2 separate regions of the Homo sapiens genome follow, and region 1 is linked to region 2. Evidence: promoter capture Hi-C in human tissues and cell types (Jung and others, 2019). All regions are on one chromosome and are shown on one strand. Each heading gives the region's core, a stretch centred on a gene start or on the middle of the fragment in contact. The rest is flanking DNA. Distances are from core to core; before and after follow the strand shown.

Region 1 (4,448 bases), core at 521-3,020, 320 kb after region 2:
AGGTGATGCCTGAAGGCGGTATTTTTCTTCATCGCTGCCTTTTCTAACTTGAAGCCCAGTTCATCCCACTGTGGCATCGAGGAACAGAGTTTGGAGTTGGACACACCTTGGTTTCAAATCCCTGGCTTGACAGCTCACTAGCCCTGTGGACTTTGATGTGGTGCTAAATTCCTTTGAGCTGTGTTTCTTACCCAACGTGGAGTTAGTCATCATACTTACCACATGCGGCATCATGGCAATGTACAGTGAGATAACGTATGTTGAATGCTTAGCAAAGACTATAGAGAGGTTCGATAAACTATTTCTCCAACCAAATTCTGCAGGGGTAGCATGAGATATTTAATGTCATTGCTAAGGACTGTAGGTGCAAAGCTTTTCATTTTAGATATTGGGCAGGAGTGGGGAATTAGAGGGAGGGGAAAATAGAAAACCTTGGCAAAAACTTTCTGGTTAGGGAGGCTTTCCTGCCCTACCCTAGATTGCAGATGGCTGAGGACGTGGGACTCCCAGGTATGTCCTATGCCCACCCCCATCCTACAGATAGGATGACAGGGGCAGCCCTGACCACCCCCCTCTTGCTCTGGAATTCCCCCTGCTTCCAGCCAGACTCAATGAATCACACCTTCTCCCTGACCTCCCGACTCTGCCTCACAGCTGGGAAGGCTGTCCACCCCTCCCCCAGCCTCCGGCAGGTAAATTATGCCTGGAGGTCGGAAGCGGAGTGGGGCGGGGACAAGGGGTAGGGAAAGTGAGGGAGGGGGCAGATGGTGGGTGGAGCTGTCCTAGGAAAGCCCAGAAGGGTGGCAGGAGGATTCTGGTGGAGGCTTCGAGATGGCTCGGAAGACTTTGAATAAGGGTTCGCCAGGGACCAGAATTTAAAGTAACAGAGTGACAGACACAATGAGAACTCAGGGTCGGCTGCCTAACTCCTAGCCGCTTCTACCCAGCTGATCTGCTGAGTCTCCGACCCTCTCTGCTGGAACCACGGGCCTACAAAGGGAGGGGTTTAATCTAAAGTACCGCTGTCAAAGTTTGTGGTGAGTGGCTTCCTGGAGACCCTGCCCTAGTTCAGGAAGTGAGAGATGGGCAGTGGAGGATGAGGCCTAGGGAAGTGGTCATGGCCAGTTCCACCCCCCCGCCCCACCCCCCAAGTATGTCGCTGCACACTCGGCAGCCAGGCAGGCCCTGTGATGAAGGAACTTCCTGGGACTGCCAGTTGGTGCCTGGAGACGGGTAAAAGCTAGATGATCTGATATTAGAGGAAGTTGCAAAGAGGGCCCTGAACAGCCCCAAGCATGTTAGTGTTGGGTGACCTGAAGTCAGGAGAAAGAAAACTGGACAACGTGGACTAAACTGATCAGCAGGGGGCCCATCTAGAGCTGCTGGTAGCCCCTCTGTCTGTCAGCTGCCTGGGGATAAAGGTTGGCCATGCTAACTGGGTTGCTATCTGGGGACAGGAATGGTGCTGGACTCATCTTTGTGCCCAGACAGCATTGAGAATGGTACAAAGTGTGATCAACAGGGAGTGATGGGCTTCAGCCGTGGTCCCACCCTTAGAGTAATCTGGGCTTGTGGTCTCATTTGCTACAGCTTTTGTTCCATGGGATTAGGGAGAAGAAGGTAGTGTTAGGGTCGAGTCCAGCCCTAGGTGGGCTGTTGCCATCTGGGAATGCAAGCACTAGGGAGAAGAGGGCTTTATACAGTTCTGGCGGCTGGCCTTTGGGGAGGGAGCCCTACGTAAGCTCAAGGAATGGATTTTTAAGGACTTGCACTCTCTTTCATGCTGAGCAGACTTGGGCTGAACACAACCCAAATAGGGTTCTCGTGGGCACAGTGGTAGCTGTGCATGCAGCCTTTTGTGAAACACAGTTTGAGGGTCCTAGAAGTTGATCTGATTATTGCCAGAATCGGAGCTGGGACTGGAAGGGAAAGATGCAGGAGGAATGAAGTCGATTTTACCTTGGGAACAGGGTCCCAAAAGGAGAGATGGTTTCTACAGGTGCCGGAAGCTCTTAAAAACTCACATCCTTTACTTCCTAGGCTGTGAGACTGTGTGTGTGTGTGTGTGTGTGTGTGTGTGTGTGTGTAGTATTAGAAAGGAACCAGTATTCTCATATAGCTTCTATTCCTTCAGTTCATTGCTACATCCCCAGTGCCTGTTGTACAGTAGGATTCCAATAAGTATTTGTTGAATAAGTAAGTAAAACCCTACTGTGTGACGAGACCTTAGGAATTAAGGAAATGCTCACACTATGAATGTTCTGTTCCTGACAGAGAATGTCCATAAGATTCTAAGAAGTTAACCTGTAGTCAGCTGTTCTGACAGTGGGACAGGAAGCCCTGTATTCCTGCAGCATGTAAGAAGGAGACCTACAGTCATTGGGACCTGTCTTCCAAAGCTTGCTACACATTTTGCTCCCATGCAAGTTGGCCCCAAAGTGGACAGCAGGGTGTATTTATAGCGTTGGATATAGTTCTTCCCATAATGTGTTCCATAATATCCAATAACACCTCTCCTACCCTAAACTCTTATTTGGAACTCAGCCACCCAGCACCCTTGCTTATTTGCATGTAGCCAAGAAGGTCGAGGACTCAAGGTCCTACATTTTTCTTCATGCCAGTCTTCTCAGACCCTGTTTAACTTCTACATATAAGCTATGTCATGCTATGTTCAAGCTGGGAAGAAGCAGCAAATGAAAGAGGATAAAGGCCGGGCGCAGTGGCTCATGCCTGTAATCTCAACACTTTGAGAGGCTGATGCCGGTGGATCACCTGAGGTCGGGAGTTTGAGACCAGCTTGGCCAACATGGTGAAACCCCGTCTCTATTAAAGATAACAAAAATTAGCTGGGCATGGTGGCGGGCACCCGTAATCCCAGCTACTCGGGAGGCTGAGGCAGGAGAATCACTTGAACTCAGGATGTGGAGGTTGCAGTGGGCCGAGATTGCGCCATTGCACTCCAGCCTGGGCGACAAGAGCAGAACTCTGTCTCAAAAGAAATTAAAAAAATAAAATGAAAGAGGATAAAGAAACAAGCATAGAGGGGGAAAAATGACTACAGTGCAGAGTTGGCAGTGAGAGCAGACTGAGATAAAAACTCCAGGAAAAGCAAGTGCTAGCAGAAGTGCCGGGGATCTTTTTTTTTTTGGAGGGAGGGGGTGTGGAGGGAATGACTTGGCACACCTTGGGTGTCTGGGGATCATCAGTTTGATAATTTATGCTTTGCTGGTAATTGTGACCCAGAGTCATCAAGAAAAGGTTAAATTATGTTCCCTTGACTCTGTTTAGGAAGGCAGGGAAGTGTGTAACGGATTTTTAAAAGATTCCCAGTCAGGTTGGCTAAAATTTTAAGTGTTGATACTTAGGTAATAATATCACTAATCCTTTAAATAAGACCAAGTAGGTGGTTTACCCACTTCACCCACCCCAGATGAGGAAACCAAGTCCCCACGAGTTGGGTAACTTGCTCAGGATCGCTCAGCTAATACTTGGCAGGGATGGGGTTTGAACTTTTGGAGCCCGCTCTTAGCCCTACCCCACACTGTTTTGAAACTCTGCATGCTCTTGCAAATGCTGCTTTTTGGATGCCCTCTCTCTACAGAGGTTCCAGCTGGCCAAAGTTTGACTGTGTTACAGTAGAGCCTGGATGAGTCCAATCTTAATTCGGCTCCACCCAAGCAGATTGCCAGTTATCCCAAAGGGTGTTTGCCTCAGTTGAAACAAGAATGCTTTTTTTTTGTTTTTTTTTTTTTGAGACGGAGTCTCACTCTGTTGCCCAGGCTGGAGTGCAGTGGCATGATCTCGGCTCACTGCAAGCTCCGTCTCCCGTGTTCATGCCATTCTCCTGCCTCAGCCTCCCGAGTAGCTGGGACTACAGGCACCCACCACCACGTCTGGCTAATTTTTGTATTTTTAGTACAGACAGGGTTTCACCTTGTTAGCCAGGATGGTCTCGATCTCCTGACCTTGTGATGCGCCTGCCTTGGCCTCCCAAAGTGCTGGAATTACAGGTGTGAGCCATTGCGCCCGGCCAAGAGTTCTTTATATATTCTGGATACAAGTTCATTGTCAAGTATACGATTTACAGATATTTTTTCCCATTCTGTGATTTGTCTTTTCACTTTCTTGGTAGTGTGCTGTGAAACACAAAAGTTTAAAATTTTGATGATGAAGTACAATTTATTTTTTCTTTAGTTGCTAGTGCTTTTGGTGTTACACCTAAGAAACCATTGCTCACTCAGGTTCATAAAGATTTACTCCTATCTTTTCTTCTAAGAGTTTGATAGTTTTAGCTCTTACATTTAGGTCTGTGACCCATTTTGACTTTTTTGTATATGGTTTGAAATAGGTGTCCAGATTCATTCTTTTGCATGTGAAGATCTAGCACCTTTTGTTGAAAAGACTATTCTTTCTCTATTGAATTGTCTTGGCACCCTTGTTGAAAATCA
Region 2 (5,091 bases), core at 78-2,577:
TAGGTGGTGCCTGTAATCCCAGCTACTCGGGAGGCTGAGGCAGAGAACTGCTTGAACCCGGGAAGCGGAGGTTGCAGTGAGCCAAAATCGTGCCACTGCACTCCAGCCTGGGCGACAGAATGAGACTCCGTCTCAAACAAACAAACAAAAAAAGTTTTAGATGAGCTCTGCCAGTAGTAAACGGCTTGTAAAAGAAACCCGGTATCTGGTCAAGTCCTAAGTGACCTGAACCACGCATCTTCAGGACTCTACTGGGATGACTGTAACCTGAACGCGGTTCCTAGAGCAGAGCAAGCATATTCCTTGGACTCAGTAACACAAGGGGCCAGTCCTCTCCAGCATCCCAGCTGCCACCGCCCTGTCAGGCTCCCCAGGCAATTGTCCATCTTACTCCTTCTCCAGCGTGGACGCTTAAGGGGAGGGAGCATCCCTCCTCGAGGGTCAACTGGCATGTAGCTTACGAAGACCGCGTGAGTTCTCCAACCCCAGACTTGCTGCGGGGCGGGGACGTGGGGGTGACAAAATCCAGACTACGACCCTCCATGAGCCCTGGCAACCCCGGGGTGACCCCAACACCGATGAGGCCACGCGCGCTCCAGCTCTGACACTCCTTCCAGATCGGCGGGGCCTGAAACAGCGGGCTAAGCTTCACCTACGGCTGAGCGTCAGATTCAGCTGAGGAGATTCTAAAAGCGCTATGCTGGGCCCAGACCCAGGCCCTCCAGAGCAGAACGCGGAGGGGCCCGACCCCAGTCTGGTGGCGTAGGTGTGTGACAAAGTATGAGGGCGCGCCAAGCTCTCCAGTTCCACATCTGCTGTCGAGTCCAGCGCCTGCCACGCTCCCGTGCGGGGACCCGCCCAAAACTCCCTGGAAGCCAGGCGATTCAGACCCCGCCACCGCGTCCCCAGAGACTGGGCGGAAACCGGAGACTCGCCTCCCGAACCCGCGAAACTATCTCCCGCGAGACTGCCCCGCCCCAACCCCGCCCCGCAACTCTACTCCCTGATTGGCTGGAATTACGGCCGGATTCCGGAGTCCTTTCCAGCTCCCTCTTCGGCCGGGTTTCCCGCCGAATACAAAGGCGCACTGTGAACTGGCTCTTTCTTTCCGCCAATCATTTCCGCCAGCCATTCATCACCGATTTTCTTCATCTTCCCCTCCCTCTTCCGTCCCGCAGTCCCCGACCTGTTAGCTCTCGGTTAGTTAAGGGACTCGGGTCCTTCCGAACTGCGCATGCGCCACCGCGTCTGCAGGGGGAGAAGCGGGCAGGGGCGCAGGCGCAGTAGTGTGATCCCCTGGCCAGTCCCTAAGCACGTGGGTTGGGTTGTCCTGCTTGGCTGCGGAGGGAGTGGAACCTCGATATTGGTGGTGTCCATCGTGGGCAGCGGACTAATAAAGGCCATGGCGCCAGCAGAAATCCTGAACGGGAAGGAGATCTCCGCGTAAGCACCTGACATTGTTGTTGAGTGTGGGGCTGTGGACGAGGGCTCTGAGGGTGTGCAGGTCCCCCGGACCCATTTTTTGCGGGAGGGACACTTGTAGCGGAAGAGTTAGGCCCATAACACCTGAAGACCTGCAGCCAAAGAAAGAGAACCCGGGCACAACCTGCGTTTGCAAGTGGACTGCCTAGTGGCTGTAGCCGCTGGCTCCTGTGCTTCGGGGAAAAGTCCTGTGCCGACTATGCTCCCAAACGCGCAGCTGCTGGTGACTTTCTGCCGGGAGAGTGGGTAGTTGCGGCTTCCTGGAGCCCCCCTAGTCAGAACTCAGAAATCCAATCTACTTAATTCCCGTTAATTTGGAGGTGAGTAGATGGAGACTAGTGAGGTGACAAGGCTTGACAAGACTACAAGGCTGATAATGACAGAGGGTCCTTCCAGCTCATAGCTTTTCCCACTATACCATAGTCTTATCATACGCTAAGTGAAATCTAATACATTTTTCCTTTCTCTTCAATCTCGTGCTTCTCTCTAACAGCCATCTCTCTGCCCTGGTCCTAGAGTTACTTGAAACGTAATTTGGCTCCTGAGTCCTGAGAATATTCTGCATTCCACTTGACCTCTGCCTGTTCTACCCTTGCGGGACATCTGAATGCTTAATTAGTGGGTATCGTTGCCAGCTTTACTCCCAGGAAGTAACACTGGCTGCTTTTTGTCTGGGAGGTGACTGGTGAGGAAAAATGAGAGTAGAAGGAAGAGGGAAAAATATATTCCCTCTAGTAGATGAAGGAGGGAAAGATATATTCTGTGTGACCTTACTGAGTTTGCTCTTGGGACCTTTCACATCACCCGTTATGTAAGTAACTGTTGCCAGCCACAGCAGTTACTAAATTGTAATTGTCCTGTAACTCCTAACTTTGTAATAGGTTTTTGAGTGAATTACAAAGTCATCGGTGGTGAAAAGTCCGGGCCCAGTGGCTCATGCCTGTAATCCCAGCACTTTGGGAGGCCGAGGTGGGTGGATCACCTGAGGTCTGGAGTTCAAGACCAGCCTATCCAAAATGGTGAAACCCCATCTCTACTAAAAATACAAAAAATTAGCCGAGTGTGGTGGCAGGCATCTGTAATCCCAGCTACTTGGGAGGCTGAGGCAGGAGAATCACTTGAACCTGGGGGGCAGAGGTTGCAGTGAGCTGAGATGCGCCATTGCACTCCAGCCTGGGCAACAAGAGCGAAACTCCGTCTAAGAAAAAAAAAAAAAGAAATCACAATACTTACTGCTTAGTGCTTTTCAACATGTGGCTTGCTAAACTGTATTTCTGCTTTACTTTCTGTTTTTGTTTGCTTGTATTCAAACTTACTTCCTTTTCCAGTGGCTTTTTGTTTTAATATAAAAATCTTCCTTTTAGAAAGACTGATTGTGAAGAGATAATTTAGTGCATAATAATAGTGCAGATAATTTAGTACAATAATAATGCATCTGGGCCAGTACTGAGAATAGGTGCTCACTGAATATACTTTCGTTAATTGGAGAGCAAATTAAATATGTTTATCAACTCCATAAGGGCAAATACATGTATTGTCTTATTTTTGTCTATATCCTAAACACCTGGAAACCCTGTTTCCTGCCTTACTACTTGTGTGGTTTTAAGCAAATTAATTAACCTTTCTGTGCCAAAGTTTCCTCAAATGTTAAGTAAAAGTAATGTCTAGGTCATTGGGATGTTAGTAGAATTAAATGGGTTCCTAACAGATGATCATTTATAATTCTTCCTGGCACATAATAAGTATTCGATATATGTTGTATTAATAATCAGTAATTAGTTAATGTATATATGAATGATTCATTATCTTTTTTTTTTTTTACATGGTAGCTGCTGCCTTGAGATCTATTTTTTTTTTTGAGATGAAGTCTTGCTGTGTCCAATCTTGGCTCACTGCAACCTCTGCCTCCTGCATACAAGCAATTCTCTCATATCAGCCTCCTGAGTACCTGGGATTACAGGTGCCCGCCATCACGCCTAGCTAATTTTTTTTTTTGAGATGGAGTTTCACTCGTCGCCCAGACTGGAGTACAATGGCGTGATCTCGGCTCACTGCAACCTCTGCCTCCTGGGTTCAAGCGATTCTCCTGCCTCAGCCTCCCAAGTAGCTGGGATTACAGGCGTCCGCCACCATGTCCAGCTAGTTTGTTTGTTTGTTTGAGACAGAGTTTCACTCTTGTTGCCCAGGCTGGAGTGCAATGGCATGATCTTGGCTCACTGCAACCTCCACCTCCCAGGTTCAAGCGATTCTCCTGCCTCAGCCTCCCGAGTAGCTGAGACTACAGGTGTGTGCCACCCCGTCCGGCTAATTTTTGTATTTTTAGTAGAGACGGGCTTTCACCATGTTGGTCAGGCTGGTCTGTAACTCCTGACCCCATGTGATCCACCCACCTCGGCCTCCCAAAGTGCTGGGATTACAGGCATGAGCCACTGCACCGGTCCTAGAATTTCTTAAAAATCCAGCCCACTTCCCACATTCCATCCTGCGGATTAGGAAATCATTTGAGGCCAGAAAAGTGATGTGATTTGTCCAAGGGTGAATGGCAATGGCTCAACTAAAACTAAGGTCTTCACCCAGTATATGATGTTTTTCATTCTAACCAGCACTTACTACTTGCTAAAAGGAATTTCGTAAGCTTTTCTTTTTCTTTTCTTTCTTTCTTTCTTTTTATTTTTCAGACAAGGTCTTGCTCTGTTGCTCAGGCTGGAGTGCAATGGCACGATGTTGTCTCACTGTAACCTCCACTTCCTGGGTTCAAACGATTCTCCTGCCTCAGCCTCCCAGGTAGCTGGGACTACGGGCATGCACTACTATGCCCGGCTAATTTTTGAATTTTTAGTAGAGATGGGGTTTCGCCATGTTGGTCAAGCTGGTCTTGAACTCCTGACCTCAAGTGATCTGTCCACCTCCACCTCCTAAAGTGCTAGGATTACAGGTGTGAGCCACTGCGCCCCCGCTGGCGCTTTGCTTTTTCTTTACAGTCTTCCTCTCATTAGCATGTTTCCCACCCTGCTGAGAATGCTATCCCTGACTCGTCCTCTTCTATTATTATTCTCCTTTTATGCCTTCCTGGGAGCTCGGACATCAACAAAGTTCAGCATTCCAGATTCCTTCTCTACCTGCTCTACTCTGTGGGAAACTGGGTACTTACATGATGGATTTAGTTGCCAAATTATCTTTCTTTGGAAGTAACAGCCCCTTTTCTCCCTCACGGGGAATTCTAAGTTTGCAGCCTGAATTTGACAACCGGGGGAAGGTCTGAGAGTTAGAGACAAGTATCTGTTCTTTGTGGGTATTTATTCACTTACTCAACAAGTAGCTGTATGTGTCCCCTAAGCCAGGCAATCTTCAAAGCTCTGAGAGTCTAATAGTGAACAAAACAGCCCAAATCCCTACCCTCATGAAACTTGCATACTGATGGGTAGAGACAGACATTTAAATAGGTGAAACACATTGTGAGCTGGTGGGAAGCACAAAGAGAACACCAGAGCAGAAAAGAGGGACAGGAGTTTCTGTGGTATGGTGGCTGCAATTTTAAATATGGGAGTCATAGTCTTTGTAAAAGTGACTTACGGGCAAAGACTTGAAGGAGGTGGAGCCTTAAGCCTG

Evidence for each region. Contacts are between HindIII fragments. The study calls those that stand out against the background at their distance.
Region 1: a fragment that was not itself captured here is called in contact with the fragment with the promoter of MTHFD1 in region 2 in 1 of the 25 tissues and cell types used here (dorsolateral prefrontal cortex).

Annotation. Positions count from the first base shown.
Region 1 is chr14:64,707,680-64,712,127 of GRCh38, forward strand. The region is part of intron 1 of PLEKHG3 (pleckstrin homology and RhoGEF domain containing G3); the gene reads left to right. Among named protein-coding and RNA genes, the nearest start is that of PLEKHG3, 5.5 kb to the left of the region's middle. RefSeq lists an enhancer at 759-1,260. The HindIII fragment of the contact is 5,509 bases long and covers 1-4,448 here.
Region 2 is chr14:64,387,026-64,392,116 of GRCh38, forward strand. It overlaps MTHFD1 (methylenetetrahydrofolate dehydrogenase, cyclohydrolase and formyltetrahydrofolate synthetase 1), which reads left to right and starts at 1,328. Exons shown (of 28, transcript NM_005956.4): 1 at 1,328-1,443. The coding sequence starts at 1,403. RefSeq lists enhancers at 391-490, 511-570, 1,091-1,180, 4,278-5,011, 5,012-5,091. The HindIII fragment of the contact is 7,460 bases long and covers 1-5,091 here.